Regions from separate parts of the Homo sapiens genome. Here regions 1, 2, 3, 4, 6 and 7 are each linked to region 5. Evidence: promoter capture Hi-C in 16 types of primary human blood cells and fetal thymus (Javierre and others, 2016). All regions are on one chromosome and are shown on one strand. Each heading gives the region's core, a stretch centred on a gene start or on the middle of the fragment in contact. The rest is flanking DNA. Distances are from core to core; before and after follow the strand shown.

Region 1 (3,326 bases), core at 153-2,652, 460 kb before region 5:
AGAAACAGAGTTTCACCATGATGGCCAGGCTGGTTTCAAACTTCTGGCCTCAAGTGATCCACCTGTCTCGGCCTCCTAAAGTGCTAGGATTACAGGCGTGAGCCACCACACCCGGCCCTAATTTCTAGTCAAGTAAAAATTTAGATGCAGGAAGAATTTGTGTGCAAAAATTTATATTTTAAAGGATTTTCCCTAATATTTTACATTTCTCACTTATACCTAATTGATAGTATATATTAGCAGCTTGCCTTTAACTTTTTTTGACACATTTAAATTTTTAATAGAAATAACAGTTCTCTTTTCACATGTATAGTTTTTGTTTTAATGTGATTATAATTATAAGCACAACTTGCATAAATAGGTTTGGGAAAAACAAATGTTTTTTGGTAAGCATTTAATTCAATGGCAAGAACATGAGTGTGTGGACCTCCTAGAGAGAAGCCTACCAACCTTGCATTGGGTAAATCTTCATAAAAATCAATGTGTTCAACAGAGAGTGGAAAGTAACTTAATCTGGCAAGTCAGTTAATTGGAGGTTGGCTAAAAGAATTTCTGTGTTCTACAATTGAGTCTTACCTTTTCTCATTTCAGCATACTTGACTTTTTATTTACCTACTTTTTTTCTTTTAGAAGACTTTTTTGTTCTAAGTCTGAGTATCTTAGAAAGTTAATAAGGTATTAAGATTCATAATCACTTTTTAAGGCTAGCTGAAATTATGACTTGTGATTAGGAAAGCTTTTAAAAAAATCTTTATAAAAAATTTTAAAAGAAGTTTAAAAGAAGTAAGCTTTTAACAAGAAAGATGACTGTGAGGGTTCCGTCCATGGAAACTGTTTTTTTTTTTCCTTCCCTCCCTCTTTTAGAAAGTGGCAGCAGCCTTAATACGTCTGCTTGTTTTGGAGAATATATTTCTTATACCATCCCATGATATTTATCTCTTAGTAGGAACATATATTAAATACCAAGTTGCAAAAATGGTTCAAGGGAGAGTGACAGGTAAGGTGATTTATTTTTTCTCCTATGACTCACATTTCCCAAATCTTTTCTGCTGACAAGATCAGCAACTCCACATTACATATGAAAAATACTTGTGTTTTTAGATTTTGTGGTAAAGTGTTAATTGCTGTACTTAACTAATATTAGACAGAAATAGCCCCATATCTTGAACATATTAATGGCATAGTTAGGCTGCTTAGCTTCGGTGCCAATAGGCATCTGAATTCTCTATTAAAACAACAACTAGCCAGGCATGGTGGCTCTCGCTTGTAATTCCAGCTACTCTGGAAGCTGAGGCAGGAAGATTGCTTGAGGCCAGAAGTTGGAGACCAATCTAGGCAACAGAGCAAGATCCCCATATCTTTATTATTTTTTTATTTTTATTTTTTTGAGATGGGGGTCTCACTCTGTTGCCCAGGTTGTAGTACAGTGGCATGATCATGGCTCATTGCAACATTGAACTCCTGTGCTCAAGTGATCCTCCCACCTCAGCCTCCTGAATGGCTGGAACTACAGGTTCCTGCCACCATATCAAGCTCTTTTTTTTTTTTTTTCTAGATGTAGTCTCTCTCTGTCACCCAGGCTGGAGTGCAGTGGCATGATCTCGGCTCACTGCAACCTCCACCTCTGGGTTCAAGCAGTTCTCCTGCCTCAGCCTCCCGAGTAGCTGGGATTACAGGTGTGCACCACCATGCCCAGCTAATTTTTTGTATTTTTAGTAGAGACGGGGTTTCACCATGCTGGCCAGGCTGGTCTCAAACTCCTGGCCTCATGATCCATCTGCCTCAGCCTCCCAAAGTGCTGGGATTACAGGCGTGAGCCATCACTCCCGGCCTCTTTTTTTTGTTAGAAATGGGATCTCATTATGTTACCCAGGCTGGTCTTGAACTCCTTGTCCCAAGTGATTCTCCCACCTTGGCCTCCCTCCCAAAGGGCTGAGATTATAGGTGTGAGCTACTGTGCCAAGCTGAGACCTCATCTCTAAAAATAACTAAATAAATAAAACAATTAAAGCTTTACTAGCTTTTGAAGGGCAAGTTAAGACACTTTACCAGAAGGGACCTGAATGAGCATTGCAATGATCTTTGCAAAAGTTGTTTCTTGAGAAACTCAATTCATCGACTGAAAGCTTAATATTCTGTTGATACTAAAAGTTACATTGAGCTTTTTTTTTTTTTTTTTTTTTGAGATGGATTCTCACTCTGTCGCCCAGGCTGGAGTGCAGTGGCATGATCTCGGCTCACTGCAACCTCTGCCTCCCAGGTTCAAACGATTCTCCTGCCGCAGCCTCCCGAGTAGCTGGGATTACAGGAGCCCGCCACTACGCCCAGCTAATTTTTTGCATTTTTAGTAGAGATGGGGTTTCACCATGTTGCCCAGGCTGGTCTCGAACTCCTGACCTCGTGGTTCACCCACCTCGGCTTCCCACGGTGCTGGGATTACAGGCGTGAACCACCGCACCTGGCCTAAAAGTTACATTGAGCTTTTAAAGTATGTATTGGCTCCATTAACGTTAATCTTTTTCTTACTAATGATGACCCCTCCTGCTACTCAGTTCACTAGTTTTTAAGAATACAAGCAAAACCAATTCTTTCTTTCTCTCTCTCTCTGTATATATATATTTTTAATTTTTATTTATTTATTTATTTATTTTGAGACGGAGTTATGCTTTGTCGCCCAGGCTAGAGTGCAATGGTTTGATCTCAGCTCACTGCAACCTCCACCTCCCAGGTTCAAGCGATTCTCCTGCATCAGCCTCCCGAGTAGCTGGGATTACAGGCACACGCCATCACGCCCGGCTAATTTTGGTATTTTTAGTAGAGACGGGGTTTCACCATGTTGGCCAGGCTGGTCTCGAACTCCTAACTTCAGGTGATCCACCCGCCTTGGCCTCCCAAAGTGCTGGGATTACAGGCGGAGCCACCACACCCAGCCTCCAGCAATATATTTTAACTCATATACTCCCCCCAAATGGTTACATGTAGAAATTCATCATAGCAGGAAAAACATTAGAAGCAGATCATACTCTTATTTTATGTCTGCTTCCTGATCATTCCTTTATGATCAAGAATACATCATTATCTACTGGAATGGCTGCTGTCATTACATTTATGTATCTTTCATGTCTTACAGAGGTGAAATTTCCCCTGGAACATTATATACTGGAATTGCAAGACCATAGAGTTGCACTTAACGGGTCTCATTCTGAGAAAGTGGCTATACTGGATGACAAAACAGCCATGGTGACTGCCTCACAACTGGGCCAGACTAATCTTGTCTTTGTCCATAAAAGTATCCTTTTGTTCAAGTTTTAGCTGCCAGTCTACAC
Region 2 (3,653 bases), core at 1,019-3,518, 480 kb before region 5:
TTGTTGTTTTGTAGCAACCATTTGTAAAACATTCCAAATAATTCCACAGTCCTGAAGCAGCAATCGAATCCCTTTCTCACTTTTGGAAGGTGACTTTTCACCTTAATGCATATTCCCCTCTCCATAGAGGAGAGGAAAAGGTGTAGGCCTGCCTTACCGAGAGCCAAACAGAGCCCAGGGAGACTCCGCTGTGGGAAACCTCATTGTTCTGTACAAAGTACTAGCTAAACCAGAAAGGTGATTCCAGGAGGAGTTAGCCAAACAACAACAAAAACAAAAAATGTGCTGTTCAAGTTTTCAGCTTTAAGATATCTTTGGATAATGTTATTTCTATTTTTTATTTTTTTCATTAGAAGTTACCAAATTAAGATGGTAAGACCTCTGAGACCAAAATTTTGTCCCATCTCTACCCCCTCACAACTGCTTACAGAATGGATCATGTCCCCCTTATGTTGAGGTGACCACTTAATTGCTTTCCTGCCTCCTTGAAAGAAAGAAAGAAAGAAGACTGTGTTTTTGCCACTGATTTAGCCATGTGAAACTCATCTCATTACCCTTTTCTGGGTTTGAAGCTGCTGTCTCTAGAAGTGCCATCTCAATTGTGCTTTGTATCAGTCAGTGCTGGAGAAATCTTGAATAGCTTATGTACAAAACTTTTTAAATTTTATATTATTTTGAAACTTTGCTTTGGGTTTGTGGCACCCTGGCCACCCCATCTGGCTGTGACAGCCTCTGCAGTCCGTGGGCTGGCAGTTTGTTGATCTTTTAAGTTTCCTTCCCTACCCAGTCCCCATTTTCTGGTAAGGTTTCTAGGAGGTCTGTTAGGTGTACATCCTGCAGCTTATTGGCTTAAAATGTACTCTCCTTTTATGTGGTCTCTTTGGGGCCGATTGGGAGAAAGAGAAATCAATAGTGCAACTGTTTTGATACTGAATATTGACAAGTGTCTTTTTGAAATAAAGAACCAGTCCCTCCAACCCTCAGACCTATTTGACTTTTATTTATTAAAACTAAATGTGCTTTCTCCACAGAAGCTATGAGGTTTGGGTTAAAAATAGCATCTTTGTGGGTGGTAGCAACAGGATTTATTCTTTATTATTATTATTTTTGAGATGAAGTTTCATTCTTGTTGCCTGGGCTGGAGCGTAATGGCTCGATCTCGGCTCACTGCAACCTCCGCCTCCTGGTTCAAGAGATTCTCCTGCCTCAGCCTCCCGAGTAGCTGGGATTACAGGCACCTGCCACCATGCCCGGGTAATTTTTTATATTTTAAGTAGAGACAGGGCTTCACCATGTTGGCCAGGCTGGTCTCGAACTCCTGACCTTCAGGTGATCCACCTGCCTCAGCTTCCCAAAATGCTGGGATTACGGGCGTGAGCCACCGCACCCAGCTGGAGCAACAGGATTTAATATAGAGCAAATGTTTAGTTTTATCATCTGTAAAATGGAGATAAGTATTGTCAGAGTAAACATGAAGATTAGAAAGAACACTTAATGTGCTGGGCCTTTTATAGGTTAACACTGACATCTCAGGCTGAACTATATACATTTTCCTTCACAACCATATCAATCCTTATAAACTATGGATTTATGCTCCTTAAAACAATATATAATGCTGATCACTACTATAAATGCGTGGTTTTAACCAACTGTACTGAAACAGCTTTGAGTTTATATTCTGTTTGGATATTTGGAGAAAACAACAAGTGCTCTCAAGAGTATTTGCTTAGAGGCCGGCTGTGTGAGTGGATAACTTTGAAAGCTGCTTTTGAGACGCCAGTGTCTGGCATTTCCTGCATTCTGGCCTGGAGGCCGGACGTGAATCTGACTTCTAGTAAAAATACACGGTTCCCTTGACAAAGTCGAGCTGTTTATCCCAGAGACTGCACAATTTTCCGTTGATAGGCATGGACCAATGCTAACTGGAAATCATTGCAAAAAGTTTTTTTGTCGGGCGGAGGGTGTGGTGTTAAGATAAACAGTGTGCAACAGAAGAAATTAAAACTGGAAGAAATTAAAGGGTTTTTTTTAGACTTTTCTGCTTGTTCCTTACTGTTAAAAAGGTCTGCCATCCAGTATTTAGGAAAGCCCTTTAAGAGAGTTTGAGGTGTTTTAGCTGGGTTTGTGCCAAAAGTTTCCATTATATTGGCTTGCTGAAGGACTGCATTTAAAAATGCCCACACATCCGAGCAAGAAGCAGGTCCCATCCCCCTCTGCTGACGTCACGCCTGTGGATTGGCTGATGGAGCTGTGAGCCGGCTGTAGTTGAGCGGGAACCCGAGACCTGGCAGTCGCCATGACTGGCTGTCCGGCGTCATCAAGACGCCGAGGCTTCGGGCTCTTTTTCTTCTTGCGTCTACACCGCCTCCTGTTGTTGTTTCTGGTTTTGCGTGGGACCCTGGCCAACAAACTTAACGTGCCACAGGTGTTGCTACCCTTCGGCCGAGAGCCAGGCCGGGTGCCTTTCCTGCTGGAGGCCCAGCGGGGCTGCTACACTTGGTGAGGGGTGGTGGGTGACAAGGATATGCACCCTCACTACCATCCAGTAAGGGTGAGGGGGGTTCCCTCTGTAAGATCCCACAGGAATACCGTGTGGGGCCGCGTGAAGGGGCCTAGCCGGTAGGGGAGGAGAGTGTGGTGTCAGTGAAGGTGGCGAGGAGCAGACCCTTGGGTGTGGCGTGTCCTACTCATGTGGTATATCCTCCAGCTGTGTGACAATCTTCCAGACGTGTGAGGAATTCTCGGGATGTGGGACTGGCCTCTTCTCTGTGTGTGTTGGGAAGGGGTGGTCACTATGAGCAGCCGTCAGGGTAAAGGGAAGCCCTGTGTTGGAGGCCACAGGTACTGATGACTTCCAATGTAAACAACTAGAGTAAGAGGAAGTTCCCCATATCTGAGGAAATTTCTGTAGGAACAGGAAAACTTGGGGTGCGAGGGTCCCCACTAACTATAGATGAGCTATTCAATGTGAGAAGGACTTAAAACACAACAGCCAAGTATTGGGGGTTAACTAAGCACTTTACATGTGTTAACTCATTCGCTTTTTGCAGTCTTATGAAGTAAGTACTATTACTCCCATTTCACAGACGAGGAAAGTGAGGCCCAGAGACTATGAAGTGTAAACTTCTGGGAATATGAGAAGATTTATCGTGGGTGGAGATGAGATCTGTCTGTATTATCAAAATTGCCCCATTTATAAAAGGGTACCCGCTTGAAGTGTGAGGACAGGGGGTACACACAACTCCGGGATAATGACTTCCTGACTGAAGATGAAGAGACATGATTTTCTGGTGTGAGAGGACCCAATGATGGGTTATGTGGTTGCCTAAGGTATGAGAGAACCTAACCGAAGTGAGCTTCAGGATGCCAGTGCATTCATCCTAGATGGAGTAGATACCCCTTTGCCATCTCCTAGGAGAAGCAATGAGGTTTGTTCCGAGTATAAATTCACCTCTCATTTTATGAGGAAGTATAAGGAAAGTGAGCTTGTAAGATGATCCAGTGTGACGTGTGTGTTTCCTGACCGTGAGGGTGATGCAAGGCATCTTTCCAGCATTGAAAGCCATTTCTTCTATCACTCCAAAAATATTAATGAGGCCAGGCATGGTGGCTCACGCCTGTAATCCCAGCACTTTGGGAGGCCAAGGCAGGAG
Region 3 (3,321 bases), core at 695-3,194, 340 kb before region 5:
TTGACATGGTTATAAGCCATAAAATTAAAATGAACTTTAGAGCCCTTGTTATAAAACAGATCAGCCTGGCCGGGCACGGTGGCTCACGCCTGTAATCCCAGCACTTTGGGAGGCTGAGGCAGGCGGATCACGAGGTCAGGAGATCGAGACCATCCTGGCTAACACGGTGAAACCCCTTCTCTACTAAAAATACAAAAAATTAGCTGGGCGAGGTGGCGGGCGCCTGTAGTCCCAGCTACTCAGGAGGCTGAGGCAGGAGAATGCCGTGAACCCCGGGGGGCGGAGCCTGCAGTGAGCCAAGATCACGCCACTGCACTCCAACCTGGGCGACAGCAAGACTCCATCTCAAAAAAAAAAAAAAAAAAAAAAAAACAGATCAGCCTAAATTTATATGATTGTCTTCCTAGCAGCTTTGGCAAAAGGACTGGTATCGGAGGAGTGTAGAATGATTGCTATCAAAATTGGCTGGGCTGGGTGACTCACGCCTGTAAGCCCAGCACTTTGGAAGGCTGAGGCAGGAGAATCACTTGAGGCCAAGAGTTTAAGACCAGCCTGAGCAACATAATGAGACCCCTATCTCTACAAAAAATGAAAAAAAAAAAAAAATAGCCGGGCTTGGTGGCACATGTCTGCAGTCCTAGCTGCTTGGGAGGCTGAGGTGGAGGATCACACGAACCTAGGAGTTCGAGGCTGCTTTGTGCTGCAATTGAACTGCTGCACTGCAGCCTGGAAAACAAAGCAACAATCTGTTTCTTTTTAAAAAATTAAGCTTTGCTACAAGAATTAAAAAATTGAGAAAAGACCTCAGAGATAAGTTAGTCTTAACACGAAAAAAAATTTTAGACATTAAACATCTACTATATACTATGTTCGTCATTGTATGTATATTATCTCTTTTAACTACCACAAAAGCCCTATGAGGTAGGCATTATTATCCCCATCTAACTGTTAACTGATAAGAAACCTGAGACCCAGAAAAGTTACATGAGGCTATGAAATGATAAAGCTATGATTCAAACGCGGGCTTCACTTACTGTATCACAGCTCTCTTACAGTGTGAAAACACAATATAGATTGTGTTCCTGATAAGTAATTGATTATTTAACCATAAATATTGAGCACTCTGCATGAAATGGATGAATTATAGTCCTTTCCTCATAAAGCTCCAGCTTCTCTTCACATTCCCACAGCTTTAAAAATTAAAAACCTGGCTGGGCACAGTGGCTCACGCCAATCCCAGCACTTTGGGAGGCCGAGCCGGGTGGATCACGAGGTCAGGAGTTCAAGACCAACCTGGCCAAGATGGTGAAACCCCCATCTCTACTAAAAATACAAAAAAATTAGCCGGGCATTGTGGCGGGCGCCTGTAATCTCAGCTACTCAGGAGGCTGAGGCAGAGAATTGCTTGAACCCAGGAGGCGGAGGTTGCAGTAAGTTGAGATTGCACCACTGCACTCCAGCCTGGGCGAGACAGCAAAATTCCGTCTCAAAAAAAAAAAAATTAAAAACCCATTTCAAGCCGGGCACAGTGGCTCACGCCTATAATTCCAACACTTTGGGAGGCCAAGGCGGGCAGATCACTTGAGGTCAGGAGTTTGAGACCAGCCTGGCCAACATGGTGAAACCCCATCTCTACTAAGAATAGAAAAATTAACCAGGCGTGGTGGCAGATGCCTGTAATCACAGCTACCTGGGAGGCTGAGGTAGGAGAATTGCTTGAATGCAGGAGGCAGAGGTTGCAGTGAGTCAAAATCATGCCGCTGCACTCCAGCCTGGGTGACAGAGTGAGATTCTGTCTCAAAAAAAAAAGAAAAGAATTTCCTATGCTGCTATGCTGTCATATTTCTTTTCACTCTGACTTAAGTCATCTCACATCAAAAGCTATTTCCTATGGAAAAGAAACATCACTCTTTATCATTGATTATAAGTCTCAGAATATGGTTGCAGCACTTCTCCAGTGCATCTTTCTCTGTACCAGTAGGTTTTGTCTCCCACAGGTAGCACCGGTGACATACCTGCGAGTGAGCAGCCAACCCAAGCTATACACAGCCCAAGGAAGGACCCTGTCAGCATTTCCCTTGGGCATGTCTCTTACCTTCACTGTTCAGTTTTATAATAGTATCGGAGAGAAATTCCACACACACAATACCCAGCTTTATCTGGCTCTGAACAGGTATGGAAGTCAAAGGAATGGTATTGACACTATGGTAGAAATCTTGCATATTAGGCTAGTATTATATAGCAGCTCCAGTAAATTCCTCTCACATTCTGAATTTGGAAGTTGATCTTTCTTTTGTTAAAAAAAATTTTTTTAAGTGAGGCCAGGTGGGTGGCTCACACCTGTAACCTCAGCACTTTGGGAGGCTGAGGAGGGAGGATCACTTGGGCCCAGGAGTTCGAGACCAGCCTGGACAACATGGTGAAACCCCATCTCTACAAAAATACAAAAATTAGCTGGGTGTGGTAGCGTGTGCCTGTAGTCCCAGCTACTAGGGAGGCTGAGGTGGGAGGATCACTTGAGCCCAGGAGGCAGAGGTTGCAGTGAGCAGAGATTGCGCCACTGCACCCCAGCCTGGGTGACCAATTAAGACTGTCTTAAAAAAAAAAAAAAAAAAAAAAGACCAGACTTAGGCAATGGTATTAGTTGTCACTTAAGAAAAAATGCAGGATATCTTAAATCTGTCAAGTTCTAATTCACTAAAAGATCCATAGGGAGCTAACTGGAGTATTATTATCAAAAGGCTTTACTGGAAAAAAAAAAAAGCCTTCCTGGGAACTATACGTATGAAGGTAATAGACTGATCCTTGGCCCATACTTACTTACTCTTTATTGTGGAATTCCTTCTGAACTTCTGAGCTGTTGAATATAAAATGTGGTAGGGTGTTCTCCAGAACTATTTTCTAACTATTGTCTCTTTTTAAAGATTTCTACCTTTAATGTCTACTTGCAGAGATGACTTGCTGCATATTGGACCAGGGAATAAGAACTATACTTACATGGCCCAGGCTGTGAACAGAGGGCTGACACTTGTGGGGCTTTGGGACCGGAGACATCCAGGCATGGCAGATTATATTCCTGTTGCTGTAGAGCATGCCATTGAGCCAGACACCAAGCTTACCTTTGTTGGAGATATCATCTGCTTCAGTACTCACCTTGTCAGCCAGCATGGTATGTATACATTCCCTTTCTCAAACTTACAATTGATAGTTGTGGGGATTAAAAAGCAGTTATTAAAAAAAAAAGCAGTTATTAATCCCTTGGACTGGTATAGTGGTTTATACCCATAATCTCAGCCCTTTGGGAGGCCAAGCTGGAGAGGT
Region 4 (3,352 bases), core at 687-3,186, 330 kb before region 5:
AGCTGAGGCGGGTGGATCACCTGAGGTCGGGAGTTCACGACCAGCCTCACCAACATGGAGAAACCTGGCCTCTACTAAAAATACAAAATTAGTCAGGCATGGTGGCACATGCCTGTAATCCCAGCTACTAGGGAGGCTGAGGCAGGAGAATCACTTGAACCCAGGAAGTGGAGGTTGCGGTGAGCCAAGATGGCACCATTGCACTCCAACCTGGGCAACAAGAGCGAAAATCTGTCTCAAAAAAAATATATATATAAGCCCGGCGCAGTAGCTAACGCCTGTAATCCACCATTTTGGGAGGCCGAGGGGGGCAGATCACTTGAGGTCAGGAGTTTGAGACCAGCCTGGCTAACATGGTGAAACTCCGTCTTTACTAAAAATACAAAAATTAGCCAGGCATGGTGGCGGGCGCCTGTAATCCCAGCTATTTGGGAGGCTGAGGCAGGAGAATCGATTGAAATAGAAGGAGGAGGTTATAGTGAGCCAAGATCATGCCATTGCACTCCAGCCTGGGTGAAAGAGCGAAACTCCATTTAAAAAAAAAAAAAAAATATATATATATATATATATACACACACACACACACACACAGACATATGTGTATATGTGTATATATATGTATATGTGTATACATATGTATGTGTGTGTATGTATATGTATATATTTATATATATACATATATATATATATATATATATATGGCATGGTAAGAAAGCAGAAAGAGGCCAGGCATGGTGGCTCACGCCTGTAATCCCAGCAGTTTGGGAGGCCGAGGCAGGCAGATCACCCGAGGTCAGGAGTTCGAGACCAGCCTGGCCAACATGGTGAAACCCCATCTCTACTAAAAAATACAAAAATTAGCCGGGCATGGTGGCACATGCCTGTAGTCCCAGCTACTCGGGAGGCTGAGGCAGGAGAATTGCTTGAACCCAGGAGGCGGAGGTTGCAGTGAGCCGAGATCGTGCCACTTCACTCCAGCCTGGGCGGTAAGAGTGAGACTCCATCTCAGAGAAATAAATAAATAAATAAAAATAAAGCAGAAAGAAAGGAGGAGTATCTATATGAAACCTAGAGCCAAATTAAGTAAGGTTTTACAGAGGGAATGACCTTTAGAAGTATGACTAAGAGTGAACTAGATGTGAAGAGAACAGGACATTCCAGGCAATATAGGGCCCTAGAGAAGTTTGTTTTAGTTTTGGTTTAGTTTGTTTTTTTTTCCAAAAATAAGATGAAATCACTTGGGCCCAGGAGGTTGAGGCTGCAGTGAGCCATGATAATGCTACTACACCCTAGCCTTGGTGACAGAGCAAGACTCTGTCTAAATAAATAAATGAATAAAATAAAAATGAAGGCAGTTTTTGGCCAGGTGCGGTGGCTCACGCCTGTAATCCCAACACTTTGGGAGGCTGAGGCAGGTGGATTACCTGAGGTTGGGAGTTCAAGACCAGCATGATCAACATGGAGAAACCCCATCTCTACTAAAAATACAAAATTAGGGCGGGGCGCGGTGGCTCATGCCTGTAATCCCAGCACTTTGGGAGACTGAGGTGGGCAGATTACCTGAGGTCGGGAGTTCGAGACCAGCCTTACCAATGTGGAGAAACCCGTCTCTACTAAAAATACAAAATTAGCCAGGTGTGATGGCGCATGCCTGTAATCCCAGCCACTCAGGAGGCTCAGGCAGGAGAATCACTTGAACCCGGGAGGCGGAGATTGCAGTGAGCTGAGATCACGCCATTGCACTCCAGCCTGGGCAACAAGAGCAAAACGCTGTCTCAAAAAAAAAAAAGAAAAAAAAATACAAAAATACAAAATTAGCCAGACGTGGTGTTGCATACCTGTAATCCCAGCTACTCGGGAGGCTGAGGCAGGAGAATCACTTGAACCCGGGAGGCAGAGGTTGTGGTGAGCTGAAATCACATCATTGCACTCCAGCCTAGGCAACAGGAGCAAAACTCCATCTCAAAAAACAAACAAACAAACAAACAAACACTGGGCGCGGTGGCTCACACCTGTAATCCAAGCACTTTGGGAGGCCAAGGCGGTGGATCACCTGAGGTCAGGAGTTCAAGACCAGCCTGGCCAACGTGGTGAAACCCCGAATCTACGAAAAATACAAAAATTAGCCAGGCCTGGTGGCTCACGCTACTTGGGTAGTCCCAGCTACTTGGGAGGCTGAGGCAGGAGAATTGCTTGAACCCAGGAGACGGAGGTTGCAGTGAGCTGAGATCACACCACTGCACTCCATTTTGCCTGGGCGACAGACAAGACTCCATCTCAAAAAAATAAATAAATAAATAAATAATGAAGGCAGTTTTTAAGGATTTAGTGGCAGTATGTAGAATGGATAAGAAAAAGAAAAGAGGAGGCCGGGCACGGTGGCTCATGCCTGTAATCCCAGCACTTTGGGAGGCCGAGGAGGGTGGATCACAAGGTCAGGAGTTGAGACCAGCCTGACCAACATGGTGAAACCCTGTCTCTACTAAAAATACAAAAACTAACTGGGCGTGGTGGCACACACCTGTAATCCCAGCTACTCAGGAGGCTGAGGCAGGAGAACTGCTTGAACCCAGGAGGTGGAGGTTGCAGTGAGCCAAAATTATGCCACTACACTCCAGCCTGGGCGATAGAGTGAGATTCCATCTCAAAAAAAAAAAAAAAAAGAAAGAAAGAAAGAAAAGAAAAGAAAAAAAGAAAAGAGGAATAGCCTGGCCACAGTGGCTCATGCCTGTAATCCCAGCTACTCAGGAGGCCAAGGTGGGGGAATCCCTTGAGCCCAAGAGTTCAAGGCTGCAGTGAGCCGTGATCACACCACTGCACTACAGCCTGGGCAACAGATGGAGAACCTGTCTCAAAGAAAGAAAAGAGGAATAACGGCAGGGCATGGTAATCCCAGCACTTTGGGAGGCTGAGGTGGGCAGATCATTTGAGGTCAGGAGTTCAAGACCAGCCTGGCCAACATGGTGAAACTCTGCCTCTACTAAAAATACAAAAATTAGTAGGGCACCTGTAATCCCAGCTACGTGGGAGGCTGAGGCAGGAGAATCACTTGAACCAGGGAGGCAGAGCTTGAAGTGAGCTGAGATCGCACCACTGCACTCCAGCCTGGGCGACAGAACGAGACTTCGTCTCAAAAGAAAAAAAAAGAAGGCCGGGCGCAGTGGCTCACGCCTGTAATCCTGGCATTTTGAGAGGCTGAGGCAGGTGGATCACGAGGTCAGGAGATCGAGACCATCTTGGCTAACATGGTGAAACCCCGTCTCTACTAAAAATACAAAAAAATTAGCCGGGCGTGGTGGTGGGCACCTGTAGTCCCAGCTACTCGGGAGGCTGAGGCAGAAGAATGGCGTGA
Region 5 (3,331 bases), core at 804-3,303:
ACAAGCTGAGACAGCCTGGGCTTCAAACCTAGGTACTCACCTGAAAGGCCTGGCGGGCACTGACATCCTGCCCATCCCCTCTCTCCCAGGGCCTGCGGGGAGCAGGGCCCTGTCCACCTTGCAGGCTTTGCCCAAAGATATCCAGGTGGAAGAAAACGTAGTCCTCCCCACACAAGCCAGCTTCCAGGGCCAGGAGCATGAGGGTTCTGAAGGCATCAGGGGAGCTGCAGATGTAGATAACTGGAGAAAGACGGAGAGTCAGAGAGAGAAGCCTAGGTACTGCGGGAGAGACAGGAGTAGGAAAGCTGGGGCACCCAAGGGAGGAAGTTTAGAGATAGGGTGCAGGAGAGACCCAGTGAGAGTTAAGTGGTAACTCCCGGCTCAGCCTAGGCCACAGCAGGAGAAAGTCGAAGGGTGGAACGGGCGGGTGCGGGGCGGTGGGCGGGAGGAGGAAGGGGGAGGCGGAAGGGAGGAAGGAACGGGTAGGGAGAGGGGGATAGTGGAGCTGAAGGTGGAGAAGGATGGGGCCAGGAGGGAGAGAGGAGGGAGAGGGAGGGGGAGAAGAGAGGGGATGAGGCGCAATGAGAGGAGAGGATGAAAGAAGGGAGAAGGCTATAGGGAAGAGAGAAAATGTGGGAGGGAAAAAGGGACCGGAACCGAGCTGTGCTAGGGTGGGAGGGAATGAGTGGGGGTCGGGGAGATGAGAGGATAGAGACGTGGTGGGGGTGGCGGAAGAAGAGAGGGAAATAGAAACTCAGCTGTAGAAAGGGCCAGGGAGCTGAAAGTAGAATGAAGAACGGCGAGGAGAAAGAAGAGTGCCCCCAGATGAGAGAGAAAGTCCCGATGCCTCCGGCAGGTCAGAGGGGAGGCCCTGCGGCTAAGCGGCGGGACGGGGTGTGCCAGCGTCTCACCTCGGCCTTTGCGCGGCATGGTCCGCAGCAGCCTGGTGTAGTGGCTGAGGTCGTCCTCGGCGAACTCCAGGTGGTCCACCGTAATATTGAGGCGGTCGCGGACCCGCATGAACAGCCCCTCCACGAGGAAGAAGCAGTGCTCTTCGTCACCCGGCCGGTAGGCGTAGAGCATGAGCGCTTGGCGCTCCCAGCCCAGCCGTCGGTGCAGCGCCGCCACGAAGTCCCCCAGCTTGGCGTAGCTGGGCCCCGCGCGGGTGGTCAGCGCATACTCGTCCTTGACACCGAAGCCCAGCGCCGGGGCGCCGGCGGTCAGCAGCGGGACCCGCCAGTGCGCGGTGAAGCGCCCCACTGGGGCGGCGGCGTACACGCAGCCGGGGCCCAGGAACACAGCGGGGTTGTGCTCCCACTTGAGGTCCACCGCGGCCAGGGGCGCTGCGGTGTCGGAGCAGACGCCCAGCGCGTTTTCGCTGCTGCCCAGCACCGTGCGGACCGTCCAGCCCGGCAGCAAGTCGGGGCGCGCCTTCACCTGGGCCAGGGCCAGCTCCACGGCGGGTCCCACGCGCGCCCACGACCAGGGGTACGAGGTATTGGCCAGCGGCAGTACCACGGCTACCGTCAGGTTGCCCGCGTGGCTGCCCCGGAGCAGCAGCAGCAGCGGCGGCAGCAGCAGGAGCAGGAGCAGGCGCAGGCGGGAGCCAGCGGGGCGCCGGGGCCCCGGCATGGCCTCAGCGGGCACCGCAGCAGGCGAGCGCTCCTACCATGGCCTCCTCGGTCCCCTTGGGCTCAGCGGCCGGTCCCAGGCATCAGGCGCGTCCCTATGGGAAGGAGCAGGAGCGGGACGGGGACGCTCACCCCGGGGCTCGAGGCCCCCTGTAGCTGCGACGGTCTGGGCCGAGAGCGCAAGGGGCGCGACCGAGGGGGGCGCGCAGGGCGCCGCGGAGCAGGTGGGTGCCAGGAGAACGTCGGGCTGGAGAGGACCCGAGTGTGAACAACTGGGAGTGTGCGTGCGTGTTAGAGAGAGAGAGAGAGAGAGAGAAAGGGTGCGAGTGAGCGCTTCGTGAAGAAGGATGAGAGAGGGCGCGCGAGGGAGGAAAGAGGAGTGTGTGTTTGTAGCGTGCGTGAGCGCCTGCCCCAGGGAGTGTGCCAGAAGGGGCGTCCGGCCGGCCCAAGTCTCCGGCTATCCGGAGGGAACCGTGGAGGACCCGAGCCAAGCTCCGAACCCTCCCTCCCAGCCGCTTCCCCTCCCAGACTCAGTGACAGAAGAGCCAATCCAGGATCTTTAACTCCTTCCTCCCCGCCGCCCAGCCCGCGCGCTTCCCCGTGGACCATCTTCCCCGGTCTCGGCCGCCCCACGCCTACCTCTTTGGAGGACAGGACCCTCTGAAGGTGCGCCCTCGCCGGGATGGAAAGGACGGCTGAACGGAGGGTGTGTGTGGAAGCAACCGGGGCCCACTTGCGCCCCACCTTTTCCCTCGCCTCCTACCTGGTCTCCTCGGGGGAAGAGGGAAAGGTGTGCTGGTTTGGGATCCTGGCAGGAAACTGAGTGAGTGCGTGGATGTGTGTGTTTGGGTGTGGGGTGGAAGGTGACGGGTTTCTGGAAAGTCCGTTAAAGTTGAAGGTGAGCCCAGAGTGCTTGTTACCCATTCCTTCTATGATCTCCCTCTCTTTCCCTCCCTGCCACCTTCCAGACTGTGCAGATTAGCTGTGAAAAAATGATCTGGTGTCAGAGAGGAATTAAATCTTTAGCGCCCAAATTGTAGGAAGATGGGGAGAGTGGGTGGGTGTCTGGGAGGGAGGAGGTTCACACCTCAGGGACGCCCCAAGAAAATGACTGTTTTGTGTTGAGGGTTGTTAAAATGAAGGCTGTGGGAGATGACCACTGGAGGCGTAAATTGGGGAGTGGGTTTTGGAGCACTTGACAGCTGGGCCCCCGGTGCAGACTGCTGTGGAATCAGTGTGCCCTCTAATGGTCATCGGGGGTTATTGACGGCATTGCAGCGCCAACCTCTCCAACGCTGCGCCTAAGCAGGACATAAGATCACCAAACTTCAGGTCAGCAAACATTTCCAGAGAACCTTCGGTGCATTAAGCACCCACTAGGTGCCGAGGGCATAAAGATGAATATATATAGTCCGTGCCTTTGAGGAGCTCCATTTGGGACAAATAACCGTAATGCAACATGCATTAAGCACTACAGGGGAGACATGGATAAATTGCTAAAGGACTCAGATGAGGGCTATTCATTCTGCTTGGATTGGGGCCAGAAAATCTCCAAAAAAGAAATAATTCAAGAGGATGGAAGGATGAGAAAGGTATTCTGTGTAGACAGAGCAGAATGTTGAAGTACATTTCCTATATATGGAATTTTAGGAGACTTGAATATTCTTATTATCTAGAGCAAATTGTGGTCGATAGGCCAA
Region 6 (3,451 bases), core at 250-2,749, 500 kb before region 5:
TCCCCCCTCTTTTTTTTTTTAGATGGAGACTTGCTCTGTAGCCCAGCCTGGAATGCAGTTGCACGATCTCTGCTCACTGCAACCTCCACCTCCCAGGCTCAAGTGATTCTCCTGCCTTAGCCTCCTGAGTGGCTGGGATTACAGGCATCCACCACCACACTCGGCGATTTTTTTTTATTATTTTATTTTTTTATTTTTAGTAGAGATGGGGTTTCACCATGTTGGCCAGGCTGGTTTCAAACTCCTGACCTCAAGTGATCTGCCTGCCTCAGCCTCCCAAAGTGCTGAGATTACAGGCATGAGCCACTGCGCCTGTCCTGGGGTGATGTTTCTTAAGCTACTTTCACTCAGAGCCTGCCAAATTTGCTTATTGAGCTGAGGTCTAGTGAGGAAGTCCTCAGAATGGGGAAGTAGAGTTATAGTTAAATATTGATGAAATCATTTCTTCTACTCCCCAGCCTGAAGAAGCTTAATCTTTTGACTTTCTGCTGCTCTGCTGAACTTTGAACCCCTACTGAGGAGGAGACACCTGTGGGAAGGGAGGGGGGTTGCTTGGGCTACCTGTTATCCTCTTAAGGCATTCTGGAATGTGGGTTTTGCAGACTCCTCCCTCCTCTGGAGCGGGAAACTGCACTCTCTGATGGTATCTCATGCTGTTAGTGGGATTGTCACTTAATTATTTTCCTGGTTACTTTGTGTGAACATCCAAGCCACCCTTGTTGGGAAGCTAGATGAGTCTAAAACTGAGACACTGGTGTTCTAGGATCCATCTTTCTTTTCTGCTCTCGGCCTGGAAATTGGTCTTTTATAATGTAGCACCTTGTCAAATTTACTTTCAGTTCTGTATTTCCTTTTTACTTCTGTCTAAATGGAAACAGATGGCAACATAATGTTTAAATGCAGTCTTTTTCCTTATCTCTTTTTTTTTGTGGTAGTGGTGATAAAAATACATGTAAAATTTACCATTTTAACCATTTATAAATGTACAGTTCACCTTATCTGTTTTTAATAACTCTCTCCTAATTGTCCCTGATATTTTTCTCTTTTTAATTTTTTTCTAGTCTAAAAAACTTAAGAGGCTGGGTGCGGTGGCTCACACCTGTAATCCCAGCCCTTTGGGAGGCCTAGGCGGGTGGATCTGAGGTCCACCTGTGGATCTGATGAAACCCCATCTCTACTAAAAATACAAAAAATTAGCTGGGCATGGTGGCGCATGCCTGTAATCCCAGCTACTTGGGAGGCTGAGGCACAAGAATTGCTTCAACCCTGGAGGCGGAGGTGGCAGTGAACCAGGATTGGATCATGCCACTGTACTCCAGCCTGGGCGAGTATCGGCACTGGGGGAGTGAGGGGTCAACTGCGGGAGTGTAAGGTCAGCACACTACCTCTGCCTCAAAAAGAAAAAAAAAAGTAATAACAAAAACCTTAAGAGTACTACCGAGGGAGTGGGCTTTGATTCTGGCCTTAATCCTAAATTCCTAGTCTCTGGAGAGGTTAGAATGCTTGACTGTTGTGTGGTTCTCTTCTATTCGTGGGCCTGGTGGACTAAGCAACCTTTCTTTGGTTGCTTTGCTTTCCTTTCTCTTTCCCCAGTACTAGAACACACACTCACAGGGGAGAGGCAGATAGCCCTTTACCCCTGCTTAGGCTCCGCCTTTGTTTACTGTGGGGCAGATAGCTCTACTCCCTTCCAACTTGCCTCCCCTTTGGTGAAGTTTAAATTCCCCAAGGACACGGTATCTCCCTGGGTAATGCATTTGTGAGCACAGTGAACTCAAATAGTCCTTTACTCACAGGGCTCAAGCCTAACTTTCTGATACTCTTTCATTTGAATTTTATCTGTGGCTTTTATCTAATAAGAGAAACCCCAGTGTGGCAGAAAGCCAGATTTAGGCTAATCCCCTTCTGTCCTTGGCCCTGTTCTGCCTGAGAGTACCATCACACTGTCAGTTTCTTGCCTGGAGGGGTTGACATATTTGGGAAATCTCTTTGGAGTGGAGGATAGCCGAAGGTGTTGTCAGCCATCTGGTAATGTGACTGAGTTGCTGGGGCATTCTACTCTTTCCCCAATCCCTCACCCAGGATCTTTGCTTCCTGGGCAGTGGAGAATCCTATTATTACTTGAAGGGAAGAACCACAGAGTACTGTATATCCTCCACACTGGGCAGAGATAGGTCAGCTGAAACACCAAAACCGCATCTGGATGGGCATGCTAAAACCTAAGATGATTAGGAAAGTGCAGAGCTTAACGTTTCCCAGGGCCACAGGTAGCCTGGTCTGCAAAAAGTAGGCCTGTTCAATCTCTTGGTACCCATTGGTATTATTTGACCTGAAAGGGACAGGCACTGTGCATAGACTCATGAGGGAAAAGTCAGCTTGTCTTCCTTGTTCCTTTAAACAAAGTATCAGATCTTGATTCTGCAGGCTTTTGTTTCATTGTAAAGAGAACTGATCCTCTGTGCTAGGAGAAAAGAGAAAGGCAAGGTCCCATTCCCTACCACTCCACCCTGGAGGGGGTCTCTGAAGCTTTTTCTAGGACTCCCATCTCAGGTTCTGCTTTTGATACAGGCTTGTTCATGTGTGCATGCTCTTAGGAGGGCACCAAGATGTGTTTTCCCCCTCTCCCTTTTCAGCCTTGCTAAGAATTCTATTGTAAATGCTGATTTGTGGGAGAAACTGCCTGAGCCAGCTTGCTGTCATGGCAACTGTACACCCCCGCCCCATAGCCTGTTATCTTCTACTCCAGTTTGGGTAACTACTGGTGAGCTGCATGATGTCTTACATTTCATGAGCTTCCTCTAAATCTAGTTGTATTTTTCGTCTGAGGGGGGTAAGTCATTTTACTAGCAGTGTCTCCTAGGTCTTGCCTGATAGCCTGACTTGCTCTTGATCCATGGCCTTGTTGGGTTTGTGAGGAGAAATGTGTGTTGTTACAGAGAACATCTATTTTTCTGGAAGAGGCAGAAGCAGAGAATACTTGTCTTTGTGGTGTTTTGAGTAGTGTAGTTAGAGGCACAAATGGTTTCTTAATGATTTCAGCTTATGTTGACTTCTCGATTTTCTTTGCCTGGTGGCTAGATTGTAGCCCCAGCCCTCTGCTTCCCTTCCTAGTCTCTTCAGCTTCTCATGTTTGTATGTGGAAGTTTTTGTGCCAGTCCTGATGGTTAAAAAGGAGTCTTTTGGTCTATATTCTTCCTCATCGGAGCTAGTGGCCCAGGCTGTTTCTATAGCTGCACCAACTCCTGCCTGCCAGGAAGAAATCAGGGTAATAGAATTCAGGCACAATCTGGGCTATAGAAGAGAGATCGTGTTTACCAGGCACTTGGATAAGCATCTGAACTGGGTGGTGTGCGGGGCATATTAAATTCTTGTATACTGTTGCAGTCAGGGTACCTCCCACCAGTAAAGGTAGCGGGGAGGCAGTCATGGAAAGAGGTTTTCCTACCATTAG
Region 7 (3,329 bases), core at 653-3,152, 330 kb after region 5:
AGCCACTGACTGTGGTCATTTAGTGCTGATTCAGAATGAAAGTAAAATAGGGAGTTGGGGGAGAGAAGGCTCAGCAGTGGGTGGGAATGAGCAGCTGGTCAGGGTTTCAAAACAGACGGGAATCTGCACTTGGGGGATCTGATGCTGACAGTGGGCCCCCATCTTAGAAGGCCACTGCAGGCCCCCAGGTTCCAGGCTAGCCCAGGCGCAGGTGAGGCCAGGGCTGAGCCATTCTGGTTCTGACCGGAGCAGACAATTCCTGGCATGATCAGTAGGTGGCCGACACCCACCTGCCTCCTCACTGCCAGCCGAGGCCAGAGGTTGGACTGAGGGATGGTGGGATGGGGGTCTTCCCCTCTGGGTACTGATTTTCCAGGGAAAGTCGGAGCCTTCTGCTAGGGCATGAAGTGGGTGGGCCAATTTTCCTGGCTCTGTACAATGACTCGAGGTTTTCACTGGGAGAAAAGGGTGTGGCTTTTTGGGTTAAAAAACAAATAAGTGGCCGGGCACGGTGGCTCACGCCTGTAATCCCAGCACTTTGGGAGCACGAGGCGGGTGGATCACAAGGTCAGGAGTTCGAGACTAGCATGGCCAACATGGTGAAACCTCCATCTTTACTAAAGATACAAAAAATTAGCCGGGTGTGGTGGTGCGCACCTGTAATCCCAGCTACTCAGGAGGCTGAGGTAGGAGAACCGCTTGAACCTGGGAGGCAGAGGTTGCAGTGAGCCAAGATCGCGCCATTGCACTCTGGCCTGGGTGGCAGGGTGAGACTCCATTTCAAACAAACAAACAACCAAGCAAGTAAACAAACAAGCAGGCAGAGGTTCCTGCAGCTACCATCAAATCACTGTGCTCTTTCCCAGATGCCTGGGACCCACTGCGGGTCTGTCTTTCCCTTCTCTGCAGCTCCCACTGTGGTCTTTCAGGGAGCTTTACCCCTCCTGTGTTGTAATGGGGGTGTTACAGCAGGCACACAGTGGGACCCGGACTGAGGGACTGAGCTGGTTTTAGTCCTTAGCTTTCTCAGACTTGCTGGTGGTCTTTAGAAGTGATTTCCATGTTCGGGCCTCCATTTTCTTATCCATTACATGAGGAGATTGGGACAGCTGACCCTTAGGTCATTTCTAGCACAGATTCCAAGTTTTGATGGACTCTTGGTGGGCTTCATGACTACTACTAGCCTCATGGCCCCTGGACACTGTCTCCTGGCTTACTTGCTCCACCTGCAGGTGAAGTCAGGTCCCTCTCCTCACAGGGACTCTGATGCCTGAGGCCCAGCCCCACTCAGGCTGCGCACAGCCTGCTGCCTATTCCTCCACTCCCTGTCTTCCTCCTTGCTGGGAGTCCCAAGTGCTCTTCCTTGGAGATCTCTGGGTACGGGTCTCCTAACCACAAGCGCCCTAACATCCCCCATTTCCCCAGTGCTCATTCTAGACTCTAGTGCATTAGGATGACTTACAGAAGCTATCCACGGGTAGCTTCAGACCATTGTTCTACCACGTTTGGGCTCAGTCCACATCAAGCTTTGACCACCCCTGGCATCCTTGTGGCCTCCCTTGACTGGCCATCCTGAGGTCTCTGAGGCCCTCTGCTGAGAGCAGCCGCACTCCCTGCCCCCATGCTGGGCTGCTCCAGCATCCACAGTGAGGACCCTCCAATGATCTGGCTTCTTAGACATTCAACCTAAGCTTCCCCAAGTCTGGACCTCTCCCCCTGTCTCCACCTTGGCTGCCTCTGCTCATCATCCTCCTAATTTCTCAGACATGCCACCTTCAAAATTGAGAAAGCTGGCATTCCCTTTTGTTGCCTGGCTTCTGTTGCTCCAACCCTTTCTCCTCCCCGATCTCTTGGGAACCTGGCTTTTGCGCTCACTATGTCCCTAGGTTCCAGATCTCTGCAGAAATTTTTGGCGAGTATCTCAGCATCTGGCTTTTGGCATCCTCTGCTCTCAGGACTCCCTTTGAAGTCCACAGCCCTTTGTAAAGAATAAAGGGTTTTCACACTCAGCAGGCATTATAATCACTGGCGTTTGGATCTGTCTCCCTCATTATATTATTAACTACTTGAGAGCAGTGTTCTCAATGTACTCATCCCTGGATGATAAGCTTTGCATATGAGTGACACCTGACAAATGTTTGCAGAATAAAATGAATGACTGGCTTGGTTTGGCCAGAACTTATGCTTAGGAGATGGCTATGCCCTGTAATTATGAAGGCGTTGGTGGATAAAGCTAGTTAGAAAAAAAAAAGACGTGCCACACAGAAGCATGAAGGTAAGGAAGGAAGTGGAAGGGAGTGATGGATAAAAGAGGTTGCTCAGAGACTCCTAGTGAGTGAAAGGTGACTCCGGAGTTATCAGAGGGCGCATGCTGCCACCTTGTGGCCTATCTGCATCAGGACAGCCTGTGGGATTCCTTTGGCCCCAGGTTTTTAATCTTTTTGCTCTCTGGACCCTTTTATATGTATTCATAGAAGTTATTGAGTATCCCAAAGAGCTTTTGTGGATTAGATGTATCAGTATTTACTACATTAAAAGTTTAAAAAATTTAAAATGATTTATTAACTCACTTAAAGTACCATTAATAAACACATTACGTATTACCACGTTTTTAAACAATTAAAAATAATTATATATATATGTCAAAAGCTAGTGAGAAGAGTGTTTTTTTTTCACATTTTTGCAGACCTTTTTACTGTATGGCTTCAAAGAAGACAGCTGGTTTATCACATCTACTTCTGCATACAAGGTATTGCTGTATGTTGCTTTGGTTGAAGATTTGAAGAAAATCCAATCTCCCACAGATAAGTAGTTGCAAAGGGGATGAATACATTAATAGCCTTTAAATATATAATTGTGGATATTCTTCTCTCATATTACATCAAAACCCAACAAGTGATGGTTTCTCAAAGGTTAGTTGCAACGTAAAGTCTGAAACCATATCAATGAATTATTTGTTCTCTGTTACATTAGAATCAATTGGTCCCTCTTAAAATTTAATGGATCTTTTATCCAAACTTTGTGACTTCATATATTGATCATTTGGAAAATATTGGTTGACTGAGTTATGTACGTCTTCTAAATGCTGACATCATTTATTACTCTCTATATATACATATTTATATATATCACACACACATATAAATAAACCACATTTGGCCGGGCGTGGTGGCTCACGCCTGTAATCCCAGCACTTTGGGAGGCTGAGGCGGGCAGATCATGAGGTCAGGAGATCGAGACCATCCTGGCTAACACTATGAAACACCATCTCTACTAAAAATACAAAAAATTAGCCATGTGTGGTAGCACATGCCTGTAGTCTCAGCTAC

What was found. Contacts are between HindIII fragments. The CHiCAGO score rates a contact against its expected background, and 5 or more counts as called.
Region 1: a fragment that was not itself captured here is called in contact with the fragment with the promoter of NPR1 in region 5 in 1 of 17 cell types (naive B cells); the score reaches 6.3 in naive B cells.
Region 2: a contact is called between the fragment with the promoter of NUP210L here and the fragment with the promoter of NPR1 in region 5, in 1 of 17 cell types (M2 macrophages). The highest score is 5.9, in M2 macrophages.
Region 3: a fragment that was not itself captured here is called in contact with the fragment with the promoter of NPR1 in region 5 in 2 of 17 cell types (neutrophils and M1 macrophages); the score reaches 5.1 in neutrophils.
Region 4: a fragment that was not itself captured here is called in contact with the fragment with the promoter of NPR1 in region 5 in 3 of 17 cell types (neutrophils, naive CD8 T cells and M2 macrophages); the score reaches 5.9 in neutrophils.
Region 6: a contact is called between a fragment that was not itself captured here and the fragment with the promoter of NPR1 in region 5, in 6 of 17 cell types (M0 macrophages, total B cells, naive B cells and 3 more). The highest score is 11.2, in M0 macrophages.
Region 7: a fragment that was not itself captured here is called in contact with the fragment with the promoter of NPR1 in region 5 in 1 of 17 cell types (erythroblasts); the score reaches 5.3 in erythroblasts.

The regions. Positions count from the first base shown.
Region 1 is chr1:154,135,777-154,139,102 of GRCh38, reverse strand. It overlaps NUP210L (nucleoporin 210 like), which reads left to right. Exons shown (of 40, transcript NM_207308.3): 6 at 865-997; 7 at 3,131-3,289. Among named protein-coding and RNA genes, the nearest start is that of NUP210L, 18 kb to the left of the region's middle. The HindIII fragment of the contact is 1,223 bases long and covers 791-2,013 here.
Region 2 is chr1:154,153,688-154,157,340 of GRCh38, reverse strand. NUP210L (nucleoporin 210 like) reads left to right here and starts at 2,268. Exons shown (of 40, transcript NM_207308.3): 1 at 2,268-2,499. The coding sequence starts at 2,297. It also overlaps a transcript of TPM3 not described here. RefSeq lists a silencer at 1,150-1,327 and enhancers at 1,934-2,434, 2,435-2,935. The HindIII fragment of the contact is 10,459 bases long and covers 1-3,653 here.
Region 3 is chr1:154,021,974-154,025,294 of GRCh38, reverse strand. It overlaps NUP210L (nucleoporin 210 like), which reads left to right. Exons shown (of 40, transcript NM_207308.3): 31 at 1,998-2,173; 32 at 2,952-3,169. Among named protein-coding and RNA genes, the nearest start is that of RPS27, 33 kb to the right of the region's middle. The HindIII fragment of the contact is 2,345 bases long and covers 772-3,116 here.
Region 4 is chr1:154,004,166-154,007,517 of GRCh38, reverse strand. The region is part of intron 35 of NUP210L (nucleoporin 210 like); the gene reads left to right. Among named protein-coding and RNA genes, the nearest start is that of RPS27, 15 kb to the right of the region's middle. RefSeq lists a silencer at 58-319. The HindIII fragment of the contact is 5,364 bases long and covers 1-3,352 here.
Region 5 is chr1:153,677,410-153,680,740 of GRCh38, reverse strand. NPR1 (natriuretic peptide receptor 1) reads right to left here and starts at 2,053. Exons shown (of 22, transcript NM_000906.4): 1 at 912-2,053; 2 at 41-240. The coding sequence starts at 1,632. RefSeq lists a silencer at 1,253-1,312 and enhancers at 854-1,834, 1,835-2,816. The HindIII fragment of the contact is 5,247 bases long and covers 1-3,331 here.
Region 6 is chr1:154,177,493-154,180,943 of GRCh38, reverse strand. The region is part of intron 2 of TPM3 (tropomyosin 3); the gene reads left to right. Among named protein-coding and RNA genes, the nearest start is that of TPM3, 13 kb to the left of the region's middle. RefSeq lists an enhancer at 1-751. The HindIII fragment of the contact is 2,058 bases long and covers 471-2,528 here.
Region 7 is chr1:153,351,671-153,354,999 of GRCh38, reverse strand. No RefSeq gene overlaps it. Among named protein-coding and RNA genes, the nearest start is that of PGLYRP4, 4.5 kb to the right of the region's middle. RefSeq lists silencers at 1,200-1,249, 2,275-2,324. The HindIII fragment of the contact is 417 bases long and covers 1,694-2,110 here.